Linked DNA regions of Homo sapiens: region 1 is linked to region 2. The links are contacts of gene promoters, found by promoter capture Hi-C in human tissues and cell types (Jung and others, 2019). All regions are on one chromosome and are shown on one strand. The core of a region is centred on a gene start or on the middle of the fragment in contact, and the rest is flanking DNA. Distances in the headings are between cores, read along the strand shown.

Region 1 (5,881 bases), core at 3,382-5,881, 82 kb before region 2:
AAAAGGAAGTTAACATACATTGAATTTCTACAATCTGCCAGGTGCTCTATAATTATCCACTTATTCCTTTGAAGTGGGTTTTATTCGCAGTTTATCCCCTGCTCCTTTCCTGCCTTGTGCCTTTTCACAGAGGCCATAAACAATCATGACGATCGCTATGCTACAGGTAGTCACTGCATCCCTTGGGAACACAGAGGAGGAAACAGCAGTCTTTCCAGAGCATTCAAAGAAGGCTGTTGACAGAAGGCAACATTTGAGTTGGCTCCTTAAGGTTAAATAGGAGTTTGAGAGACAAAAAACGAGCAATAACTACATTATCTGCAACATAAGAGGCTTTGATTGTCAGGTCTTAGAACTCTTAGCCAACTCTACAGTTTTTGTTCTGTTAACTTTCCCTTTTTAGAAAATTAAAGCTGTATTTCATCTGCTTGACATTATTTTACCTGAATATGGTAAAACCATCCATATCCTAAAACATGGAACCCGGGTTGATGATTTTTAAATACTCTAGAAAGGAAAGTATAGAGAAATATTTCTGGAAGAGTGTTGGGCTAGGGAAAAGTAAGTATAATTTGTTGAATGCCTAATATGTACTTTACTGCTGTTTTAGTTTCATACTCTCAGCATCACAAAAACCATGAGAGGTAGGTATTATTATGTCTATTCTTTAAATGAGGAAAATGAAATGCAGAGAGCTTCTAGACTGTGTTCAAAGTCATACAGCTAGTAAGTGGCAAAGCTGGAAATTAAACAGGAGTCTCCCTGACTTTTGAACTGTGCACCCTCCAATGTCCCATGCTGCCTCAAAGATAATGGCCTTTCTGAGGATTAGAGTCTCAACCTTAGCACTATGAATTGCATCCAATATTTCAAAGTTTTTTTTTGTAGCAGCAGAGCCCTTATACTATACTAAGAATTATACTTAATACTAACAATTGCTACAATAGCAACCTTTATTCAGTCCTTAATGTATGCTGAGCACAATTATGATTTCTTTACATGTTTCAACTCATTTAACTCTATGAGGGCAGTAGTATTTAAGAACTGCTTTTTACAAATGACTAAACCGAGGCACAGAGAGGTTAAATGGTATGCCTGAGGTCACACAGCTAGATGTGGCAGAGATGGGAAATGGGCCCAGACTGTCTGGCTGCTGCCCTTGGATTCATGATAATTGCACATATTCTTCTCTAACTTATTCAACAAATATTTAGGGCTGCTTCCCATGTGGGAATATGATTCTAGATGCTAAATAGGACTGTCTAGATGATCTGGGTAAAGGAAATCTGAAGGCTCAGGCCAGCCCATTTAGTCTCCAAGTGTTACCTAAAGTGGCCCATAAGCTTCTTGGAGGAACCCCAGGGCTCCACAGAACATAGATTGAGAAACTGTTACTTGTACCAGCTACAACATCTTTCAGAAGATGACATTATATGCTACCTTGCTTTTCTAATTCTCTCTCCTAAAAGCTGCTTTTGCTTTTGCTTTTTAATTTCCAACTTTTATTTTAAGTTCAGGGGTACATGCGCAGGATGTGCAGGTTTGTCACATAGGTAAACGTGTGCCATGGTGGTTTAATATACAGATCATCCCATCACCCAGGTATAAAACCCAGCATCCACTAGCTATTTAGAAGCTGCTTTGTTCCATGTAGGTACAATATCCTGACCCAGGAAGATGCTCAGAGTGTGTACGATGCCAGTTATTATGGGGGCCAGTGTGAGACGGTATACAATGGGGAATGGAGGGAGCTTCGATATGACTCCACCTGTGAACGTCTCTACTATGGAGATGATGAGAAATACTTTCGGAAACCCTACAACTTTCTGAAGTACCACTTTGAAGTAAGTCTGAACAGAGGGGCTCTGAGGCCACTGTGGTGTAGGTGGCAGAGAGGCAGAGGCCTATTTGTGGAGATGACTTGCTCTGGAAGCTTTTGTTTTCTATAAAGTTTGCTGGTGTCTGAAGTCTCCTTCATACCCATCCCCACACATGCTTAGTGTCGAAGGGTGCTGAGAGGCAGATCATAAATGTGGCTACCCACCTGTTAAATCTTGGCTCCATTCCAAAATCAGTAAAATAGATCTGAGGCTCTATTATCTGGGCTGCCAATCAGACAACCTATTTCTAAGTTGTGGCTCTGTTAGACTATATACAAGACTGTTAGCAGCTAACTCACTGCCCTCCTTGGGCCCAGTTTTCTAATCTGTAGAGTGTGGGGGAGGACAGGGCATAGATGAGCAGGATTCTGAGACCTGTGCTTTTGTTTCACCAAAGGCAGCTCACACTGATCATTTTCATGTCTTGGCTCTTTGTATGTGATTTTGTATGAAGCAAGGGTTCTTCTGTACAAAAATGCTTGCAAATTGCTGACGATCACTAAGACTCTCTCCATCTCTACAATTTGGTGGTCTCTTGGTCACTTGGAGCTCATGATCAGTCAAGGGCCTACTCATGGCCATTAATTTTCTTACCACTCATCCTTTGGGTGAAACATCCACACAGCGAACATCATTGAATGCTTAACATGTGTCAGATCTTCTACTTTCACACAAATTCTCCCATTTAATCCTCACAACACAATGGGATAGATATTATCATTGCCTCATTTTAGATATTAAGAAAAAGAAACACAAAGGGTTAAAGTGTCAGGATCAAACTCTACTGCAGTTGGTGGCAAAGACAAGACCCAAACCTAGATCTGTCTGAACTAAGTCCAGGCTGCACAACATTTAGAAGAAGAGATAGATTATACACTTTCTAGAGAGAGATAGTAGGATCCTAGGATTCTGAACAAAATACTGACAGAAAATAAGGCCAAGCTTATAGGGCCTGTTTTTAAGAAGTTTGCTCCCCCAACCCCACTCCAACCTCTACTCTCTATCAGGCCAATGGTAAATCAAGGTGGAAGACATAAACAACACCATGTTCCTAATCTCAAGGAAGGTCTTGGGGCTCTGTATCAGGCAAGACGGACTAAGTGCTTTGGGAACAAAGAATTCTCAAATCTCAGCAGCTGAAGCAACAATACCTTGCTTATGCTATTTGTCCACCCTAAAGTAGAAAGGAAACTGACCATCACAGACACTCAGGGACTCAAGGTAATGGAGGCTCCATTTCAACACATGCTCTCATGATTGCAGAGCAAACTACTCACAGGCTCATAAGGCTTACTTCTTTGGCTCAAACAAGGCCAAGACCATGTCTCAGTTCAAGACAGCAGAGAAATGAAATCCTGTATACCACTGCCTAAGACAATCCAAATCTGCAGGTTTCCTTTGCTTCTTTCCTCCCAGGCTCCTGCCCAGATGTGGCTTTCTGTATCTCACTATTGCAAAGACAAGCAGCCAGCCTTCTCTCCTGGAAGGATAAGCCAGCAAGAAAGAAATCCACGCTCAGAGCAATATAGCATTTGATCAGAATCATCTGCATCTGTGTGTGTGTGTGTGTGTGTGTGCAAGCACATGTGGTGTGTAAATAAGTATTTTATCAGTACCACTAAACACTAACAATGCTGTGTTTTCTATATTTTAATAAGTATCAGTCTAATGACTGGATTGCCTTATAAAAGAATTACCTACCATAATCTAAAATTTTAGATATTTTACAAAGCAAAGATTTAAGTATTAAATATGAATTGAGAAATGGCTCTATGTGCACAAAGCTAATATCTATCCTTTTTTTTTTCAGGCCCTGGCAGATACTGGAATCTCCTCAGAGTTTTATGATAATGCAAATGACCTTCTTTCCAAAGTTAAAAAAGACAAGTCTGACTCATTTGGAGTGACCATCGGCATAGGCCCAGCCGGCAGCCCTTTATTGGTGGGTGTAGGTGTATCCCACTCACAAGACACTTCATTCTTGAACGAATTAAACAAGTATAATGAGAAGGTATTCAAACATAATGTCTGTGTCTCACAGTATTCCATAATATACACTGAACACGTATTACCTTAATTGCATTAAAAAGTACAGTAGTAATTGAACCTTAATTTGCTTGTGTAATTGGAAATGTCTGATCAGTGGTAATCAGGTTTGTTTTTCTTATTACGCTTTTGCACACAGAATCATCACAAAGGAAATAAAATTGAATGATAAGACTAGGACTCTTATCACTTTGCCCCCCCCATCATCATTTTTTATGGTTACCTGGAGCATATAGGGAAATGTGTAGAATGGTAATGTTTTAAGAGAAACAGCCAGACCCTCTAAATTTCACTTGGAAGAATTGTAAAGCAAGCCTTGCTTTTCCAAAAAGATAGAAGGACTGGTATGCTAAAAAAAAAAAAAAAAAAATTTCATTTTTCCAGTAAACCTTCACCATTAAGTGCCTATTATCCTGGGGGGTCAATATATGCTTCCTTGAGGAAAGAACATTGATCTAAGCTTAGATCTAAAGATTAGTGCAAATTGTCCAGACAAAGGGAGACAAAAGTTGGCAGAAAGGTGCTCTAGGCATGGAAATCAGCATGTGCGAGGGCCTGGAGATGAGGAAGCCACACAAAAACTTGGGATTGAAAGTACTTCAGCCAGCTGAAGCACAGGGTGGGAAAGGAAAACAGAGAGTGATGAGGTTGGAGATGTAATCAGGTGGCCAGGGGAATATTTATTGAATTAATTAGAAGCTTACTAAAAATTCTCAATTGCATTAATACCAAGACTATGGATCAAGGTGGGGTTCAAAAATTATCTTGAATGATGAAAATATAGTTATAAAAATCAACTTACTCAACACACATAAATTGAGTCCTAGAGCTTTGCCAAAGAATTAGCTATTGAGCTGAAGGTAAAGTCCTATATTGTTCAAGGGTTATCTGTAGCGTGTTAATATGGACTTTTCTAAAAGCATGTGGACTCCTCTAACTTCCATCATCACTTTGAATCAAGGCTTCTATTGCCTGAAAGTAAAGCCCATAGATGGCCATCTTCCTGTAAAACCAATCCAAAATTCTTCCAGTGCTATCTCTTATTTTTTTATATAAAGATGCTGCTTTTCTTTATTACTTAGTTCAAGATTACTATTGGAATGTAAACTCCATGGGGGCAGGAGCCTATCTCATTCAAGATTATGTCCTCTGCACCTAGTGTAATGCATTCTACTATAGGCATTGTAGATCTTTGCTCAATAACTTCAATTGAATGACATTTCAGCATGTCACTAAAGATATCTTAAACACAGTTTTTAATGGATATGTAATATTAGCATAGGAGGTTTCACAATGCAGTGCTTTGATTAGCACTAGGAGAAGTGTGGGGGTGGGAATAGATTGGGAGAAGAACAGAAGGGTGAAGCACAATGAAGAAACCATTGTAGTAGCTCACCCAGGTGAGAGCTGATGAGAACTTGACCTAGGCAGGGGCAATGGGAACAGAGATGGAGGTGTGGGGGAAGTCTGGCACACATTGGTGCCTAGTATGTGCTTGTGAAATATAGTAGTACTCCAATTACATGTATTTATGTTCATATACGTGTTTATATATAAATATATATTTACATAAATATATATTTATATATATTTACATAAATATATTTATTTAAATATATATTTACATAAATATATATTTATGTAAATATATATTTATATTTATTTAAATATATATTTAAATAAATATATATTTATTTAAATATATATTTAAATATATATTTAAGTAAATATATATATATTTCCGTAAATATATATTTATTTAAATATATATTTACGTAAATACATATATATATTTCTTACAGCTACTAAAAGCTGACCTTTTGCATCCTTTCTTTTTTGTTTTTTTTTGTTTGTTTTTTTTTTTGAGGCGGAGTCTTGCTCTATTGCCAGGCTGGAGCGATCTCGGCTCACCGCAACCTCTGACTCCCTGGTTCAAGCGATTCTCCTGCCTCAGC
Region 2 (6,551 bases), core at 1,943-4,442:
CACTATCTATAGTATTGCTTGTGTGTGCTTTATTCATACTTACACATATGATTCTGCAACTCACTTTTGTTAATCAACATTGCATTTCTGAAGTTATCCATGTTGATTCATAAAGAGATCTAGTTCATTTCTTTTGTCTGGATGTTCTATCATATGACACACATTGCATTTAATTTATTCCTTCTCTTTTTGAGGGACATTTATATTTTCCCAATGTTTTGCGATTGCAAATAGAGCTACAGTAAACGCCCTTGCTCAGCTCCTTGAACATGTGCCCCCTCTACTTAAGGACTGGCAAGGAGGTGTCTTTCCTGGGGATGCAGAAAATGCTGTAGCCAGCATTAGGACACATTTAACTGGGCCCAGGTCTCCCACTCTTTTCCTAACAGGCGTCTCTGATCAAAATAAAGATGGATCCATCCAGTACAGCAGGATTGGGTCAGCAGTAAATTGCAAGCCATCAGCTTATATAGATGGGGTGCGTCAATATATTTTGGCTTTCGGTAGAAATGCCCTGACACAACAACTTTCTTGTCACACACAATTTGTTAAGCAGCTGCATCCCCTTTGCAAACAGCATCCTTTTTCTTTGCTAGAAGGGGCAGCTTCTAGGTGGCAGGTTTTCAATTTCTCTTCTCTCTGTCGTTTGCTGTGGTAGACATGAAATTTAAAGCAACATCTCAAGGCAACAAATGTGTGGCCCAGAGATGGAGAAACAGCACAGAGGCCAACAAGTCAGATACACAATGTGGAGGTTGGGGGGTGGTGGGGGGTGGGGAGGGGACAACGCATTAGTGAGAAGCAGAAGGATGCAGAGAGAGTGCAGGGACTCTGAGACCTGAATGAAACTGGATTTGAATCCATAGTTAGCTGTTTGTTAAGTGGATAGCCTTGGGACACTTATGTTTTCTGTTTCCCTCTCTGTGAAACTGTAAACAGTAGCACTTACCTGGAATAGCTGTGAGGATTATAGCTAATGTTTCCAAGTTGCTGGCACAGAGTGGCAATACATAATAGGTCTTACGACACAGTGATTGTGATTTCATCATCTGACTTGATTACAAGAGTAAGTAAGAACAAAAAACTCTTTTGGCCAATACGAAGGTGGTCTCAGCATTTTCTGTTCCAGAACCAAAGACTATTCTTCTACTCGCAGATGGAATTCAAATACCTGTCGTGTTCAAGACAGCCCCATGGGGATTATAGGTGGATGTCAGAACTATACCCAGATTCAGGTAAGGGTTTGAAAACCTCACCACACATGCGTGAATCTTTTCTTGTCACTGAGGATCAGTTTGTTCTCTTACATAGCGAGAAGGAGAGATTACACCCACCTCATGATGTTGTAGTGACAATTAAATACAATTTCTCAGACTGCACTCTAATCAACAATTTGCCCCTCCACTCCCTACCTCAGAGTGAACTTCCTAATATATATATTTGATCGTGTCACTCCTTTGCTTCAACTCTTCAATGGCTTCCCAATGCATTGTGGTGAGGATATAGTTCAAGTTCCTTAGCTGGTACTCCAGCATCCCCCAACTCTGCCCATGACATGATGCCTGTTCACTCCTACTCTATCTCATCCCTCTCAACTTCCTGCCGGGACCTGTGTTCAAGGCCCACTGAGGTGTCTGGAAGCTTCAGGAGCAAGCCAGCTCTCTCACACTCACGCACCGTTGCCTGTGCTGCTCCCTCTACCTGGCACACCTTTCAACCCCTTAGCCATTCGGCAAACACCCACGCACCTGTAGAGATTCAGCCCTCACACTCTCTGTTCTAGAAGCCTTTCCAGGCCCTATGCCCTGTAGAGCTGATCATTCCCTCCTTGTTTCCTGGCTGCCCCGTAGCATCTTTTGTAACGGTACACATAGCATATGCTCACATGTTGGCATTCTTTGTGAGAACATAGGCTCATCTCTGTATCCTCAGAGCCCAACAGAAAGCTCCACCCAGGGGCACAATGCTATAGATAGGGTTGCTATGGTTCCCTTAAGTCCTCCATTCCGGAGACATTTTCTTGGGTCCTGAATGCTTCTCTGTGTACACACAGTACACACAAGGAAGGTCTTGGCAGCTTAGTTATTCTCTGGGCTAAATGGAGTTTCTTGATCATCCTAATAGCTGTTACTTATTGAGTGGCCAATAGATAGTGAACGAATGCTCATCATCCTGTGGTTCCTAATGGCAGCTCAACAGAACTGAGACCAGAGGCTGTGTCCCATGGGTAGGAGGTACTCCTCACATAAAGTGAAAGGTTTGTTCAGATCTCATTTTTGGACTAAGTAAAAGGAATGGAATTACAGTCCCTCTTCCCACAGGAGTGTTTACATGGAGGCCGGGGACACATGCACACTTCAACATCTCATGGCAGGGGTTTCTCATGCACACGGAGCATCCCCACATTGCTACGTCACTGGCTCTTCTATCACTGGAGCCCAAGTTTGAGCTCCCACTAGGATATTTTCTTTAGCTTGTTTTGCACCTTGTTAATGGAGACTAACAATGATGAAATAAATCAGCCAGCATTTAACTGCTGGGAACCTTGTGGGGGGTGAGAGAGAGAGAGAGAGAGAGTGTGTGTGTGTGTGTGTGTGTGTGTAAGAAGGGGGTGGGAAAGAACCTGAGAATCTGAAGATTTGGGGTTGATGAGCAGGTAGAGTAGGTCAATCTCATTTATTAAAATCATTTCATGAATTTGCTCTTTTGTCCTCTGTATGTAACAAACTTTCTTTTTCATAAAGAATCACACGGAGGCTTTGTTCAGAATACAGAAAAAATATCCTATTCTTCTCAGCATGACAAAATACATTTAAACCTGTCAGTTTCTTACAGGAACTTTTGTTGAAATCAGCTACTTGGTTCCACAATAATTTGAAAAGAGTTGTTGATAGTATGTTATCAGATGCATGCAAATTGCCTTAAGAGACGTTCCTCATTCAATAGGCATGCAACAAAGAGATGGTCAGCATCATGTGGCTGCACCTTCCCTGTCATATTATTGATCAGGGAATTATTGGTAACTGTCACTTACCTGGAGCCAGGCAAACTGAGACAGCCCAGGGCAGCACAGAGAAGAAATAGCTCCACCGGCGCCCTCCAAGCCCATGTCCTGGAATTCTTCATTTTCCCAATGTGACAGGAGATGCCACAGAGGCTGCTAGACCCATAACAAGCCTGTGCTGTGAGTGCCACTGTCAGCTTCTGTCCCCAAGAGCAAATAGCTCTGCAAAGTAAACAGAAAGCCACTAGTGACTGGAAACAGACTTTGCACAGACCAAAAACTTACCTGTCACTCTGGAAACCAACCAGAATAATGAAAAATCTGTAGCAGCATGGTGTTTATTCCTCTGTAACTTTAGGGTAAGCTGCCAAGTGGACAGGCTATTAGTGAGGTGGCAAGGACTGTGGGATCTAGGTCTAGACAGCCTGGGTTCAAGTACATTCTCTGCCACTGACTAGGTTGGTGCAAAAGTAATTGCAGTTTTTGTCATTGCTTTTAATGGCAAAAACCACAATTACTTTTGCACCAACCTAACAGCTTTGGACTATGGGCAAGTTGCTTTACTTCTGTGCCTTACTCTCCTTACTTGCTAAGTGGTGAGAATTAAACACGTTAATATAAGGAAATGTTTAGAACAGGCCTATGTTCAGCGCTCAGATATGTCAGCTATTATTACTTAGTAGAATTCAGGGTTTGGAGTCAGACAGGCCAAGGTTTGAATTCCATGTTTGCCTCTTTCCAGTTACATGATGTTGAGCAAGTCAGTAAGAGGCTGTAGGGCTCTAGAACCCATCTACCTGACTTCAAATTGCTTCTGTATGATTCACCAGCTGTGTGGCCAGAGAAAATTACTAACCCTCTCTGGGCCTAAGTTCCTTCATCAATAAAACAGGGATAATAATAATACCAACCTCACCGGGTTGTTGTGAAGATTAAATAAATTAGATTATTATTAATTATTATTGTAATTATAATTAATTATAATTATTATTATTAAATAAATTAGATTTATTTAATCTTCACAACATGTTCAAAACATGTTGAACATTGCCTGGCACATTCTATGTGCACTCTCTATAAGTGAGCTGGTATTTTTATTGACTGTCTCTGATTCTGTTTCTTCATATGTAAAATTAGGAGGACTATGACAACTTACCACTCACAGTTGGGAGAGTCAGACCAAATACTAAATGTGTAATTGTTGAACAAATAGGCATTATAGAAATAACTACATGACACTTTGGGAGGCCGCGGCGGGCGGACCACGAGGTCAGGAAATCGAGACCATCCTGGCTAACATGGTGAAACCCCGTCTCTACCAAAAATACAAAAAAAATTAGCCAGGCATGGTGTTGGGCGCCTGTAGTCCCAGCTACTCGGGAGGCTGAGGCAGGAGAATGGCGTGAACCTGGGAGGCAGAGCTTGCAGTGAGCCGAGATCGCGCCACTGCACTCCAGCCTGGGTGACAGAGCGAGACTCCGTCTCAAAATAAAACAAAACAAAACAAAACAAAAAAAACCCAGGAAATAACTACATGAAAATAATTATCTAAATATATATGTGCTGTTGTTGTTATTGTTTGCATCCCAAAAGATACAAATGACTGAGGTTCTCAAACCTACCTTCCTGAAAACCATCCCTGACTCCCCAGAATCAACATATTAAAGTCCAAACTGCACCAACCTGGCATTTACAAAACCAACCTGCAACGCATAAAGGGCTGAGTCCACGTGTTGGATGGCGTCCTGTTGCTTTTGCTATTGCAGATGTGGGTGAGGAACCTCACATGGGAGAGGCAGCTTGCAAGGTATGAGGGTGGGCTAGTAGAAAGAACACTGGATTTGCTTTCCTTAAACACAGTTACAGAGTTTCTCTAAGACTCTGTTTTCTCATCTGTGAAATAGGGATAATAATTCATTACTACCTACTTGATAAGTTTGTTTTGGGTTTGAACGTACAAAACGGGAAGCCTCCCCCTCCTGCCACCCCTGCCGAGTAGCTGGGTTGGGGTTGGAGAATCAAATAAGGAAGTATAGTGAGGGGATGGATGGGAAAGCCACAGAAGATGGTAGTCCTCTCACATTAATTGTGTCCAAAACACAGAACACAAGTTCTGCTGCCAGACCACCCAGGATGCATTCCAGTTGTCATAAGCCTAGGTGCAAGACTCCATGTCACCGTTGTCCCAAAGGATGAATTGACCTGAACTTTGACGCAATTGATTGTGGTGGTTAATCATTTGTAAACAAGCAGAAACTTGTGTTTCAAGAAAGATCCATGTCCTGTCTCCTATCTGCCTGCCTTTAAGAGAAGCCAAACCCTTAGAAGACAGGGCTCCCCTTCGACCTCCTCAACCTGATGTACTCACGGAGGAGCCTGCAGGTTTAGAGAGGACAGTTACACGAGTGAATCCTGTGCTCTCTCACCTCCAGGATTTTTGCATGCCGTTCCTTCTGTCCAGAGTATGTGCCACTTAGCTAAATACGACTCATTATTCGAGTTTTATATTAATGTCACTTGCTCAAGAAAGCCTTCCCAATAGATTCCCCTGGGGTTCTTAACGCTCCAGGCGCCCCCAGGTCTCCCGGAGTTCCAACCTCATCGCGCCCCCTGGTGGTTTCCCAGTGCAGCTCACCTGAGATCCCGCCTGGAGGACGGCAGCCTCAGGCTTTAGTGATAGTAATACACATATTTTTCAGGGACAGTTCTTAACAATTTAACAGTTTTCCCATACATCATCTTGTTTGATTTTGACAATAAGCCAAGAAACATAATATCATCTTCCAAGCCTCTAAGATGGGGCTTCACAGCTGTTTCCACAGCTGGTTAGTAGGACATCTTTGGCTTGATACACTTTTTTTTCTGACTCCTAAATGCTCCTTTTTCTAGCTCTGAAGCTTCCCCTTGCCCTTAGGATGTGCCAGCACTGCTTTAAGTCTTCACAGTTATCACACCACACTGCTCTTCTGGTCTAGCTGCTCTTACTCAGGGCTATAGATCTCATCTCTGACCATGCGAGAGCTTTGAAACTGATCATATGTCTCTAGGCCTTTAAACGATATGAAGGAATTTGTAACTCTAGGTCTGCGGATCCACTAACAGTTTGTTGTTTTTCCAACTTTTATTGACTGATTTTCCAGGCTCCACCCAGTTCCACAGCCAATGCCACTTTTCATGTTTCTGCTATGGCAGCACTCCACTCCTGGTACCTATTTTTGTATTAGTTAGCTTTTGCTGCATAACAAATAATCCCAAAATTGTAGACTAAAACAATCATCATTTATCAGCTCACAATTCCTTGGGTCATCAAATAGGCCTAGGCTAAAATGGGTGCTGGCCTTGCCTTGGTTCAGCCAACTGGTAGGTCAGCAGGAGCCTGGTTGGTCCAGGATGGCCTTACTCACCTGCCTGATGATTCATTCTGTCTGTCAGTTAGCACTGGCTGTTGGCTGAAGTGATGAAGTAAATGGGCCACATGACTCCAAATAGACTAACTCAGGCTTGATCTCAGGGTGATCTAATGGTTTCAAAAAGCAGCAAGAAAAGA

Evidence for each region. The method cuts DNA at HindIII sites, captures the fragments that hold promoters and counts their contacts. A contact is called where the count stands out against the background at its distance.
Region 1: a contact is called between a fragment that was not itself captured here and the fragment with the promoter of C8B in region 2, in 9 of the 25 tissues and cell types used here (H1 embryonic stem cells, IMR-90 fibroblasts, aorta and 6 more).

What each region holds. Positions count from the first base shown.
Region 1 is chr1:56,879,791-56,885,671 of GRCh38, forward strand. C8A (complement C8 alpha chain) reads left to right here. Exons shown (of 11, transcript NM_000562.3): 5 at 1,655-1,844; 6 at 3,691-3,891. Among named protein-coding and RNA genes, the nearest start is that of C8A, 28 kb to the left of the region's middle. The HindIII fragment of the contact is 5,987 bases long and covers 1,639-5,881 here.
Region 2 is chr1:56,962,823-56,969,373 of GRCh38, forward strand. C8B (complement C8 beta chain) reads right to left here and starts at 3,193. Exons shown (of 12, transcript NM_000066.4): 1 at 3,035-3,193. The coding sequence starts at 3,126. It overlaps LOC112267900 (a long non-coding RNA gene), which reads left to right and starts at 1,150. Exons shown (of 8, transcript XR_007066117.1): 1 at 1,150-1,235. The HindIII fragment of the contact is 9,311 bases long and covers 1-6,551 here.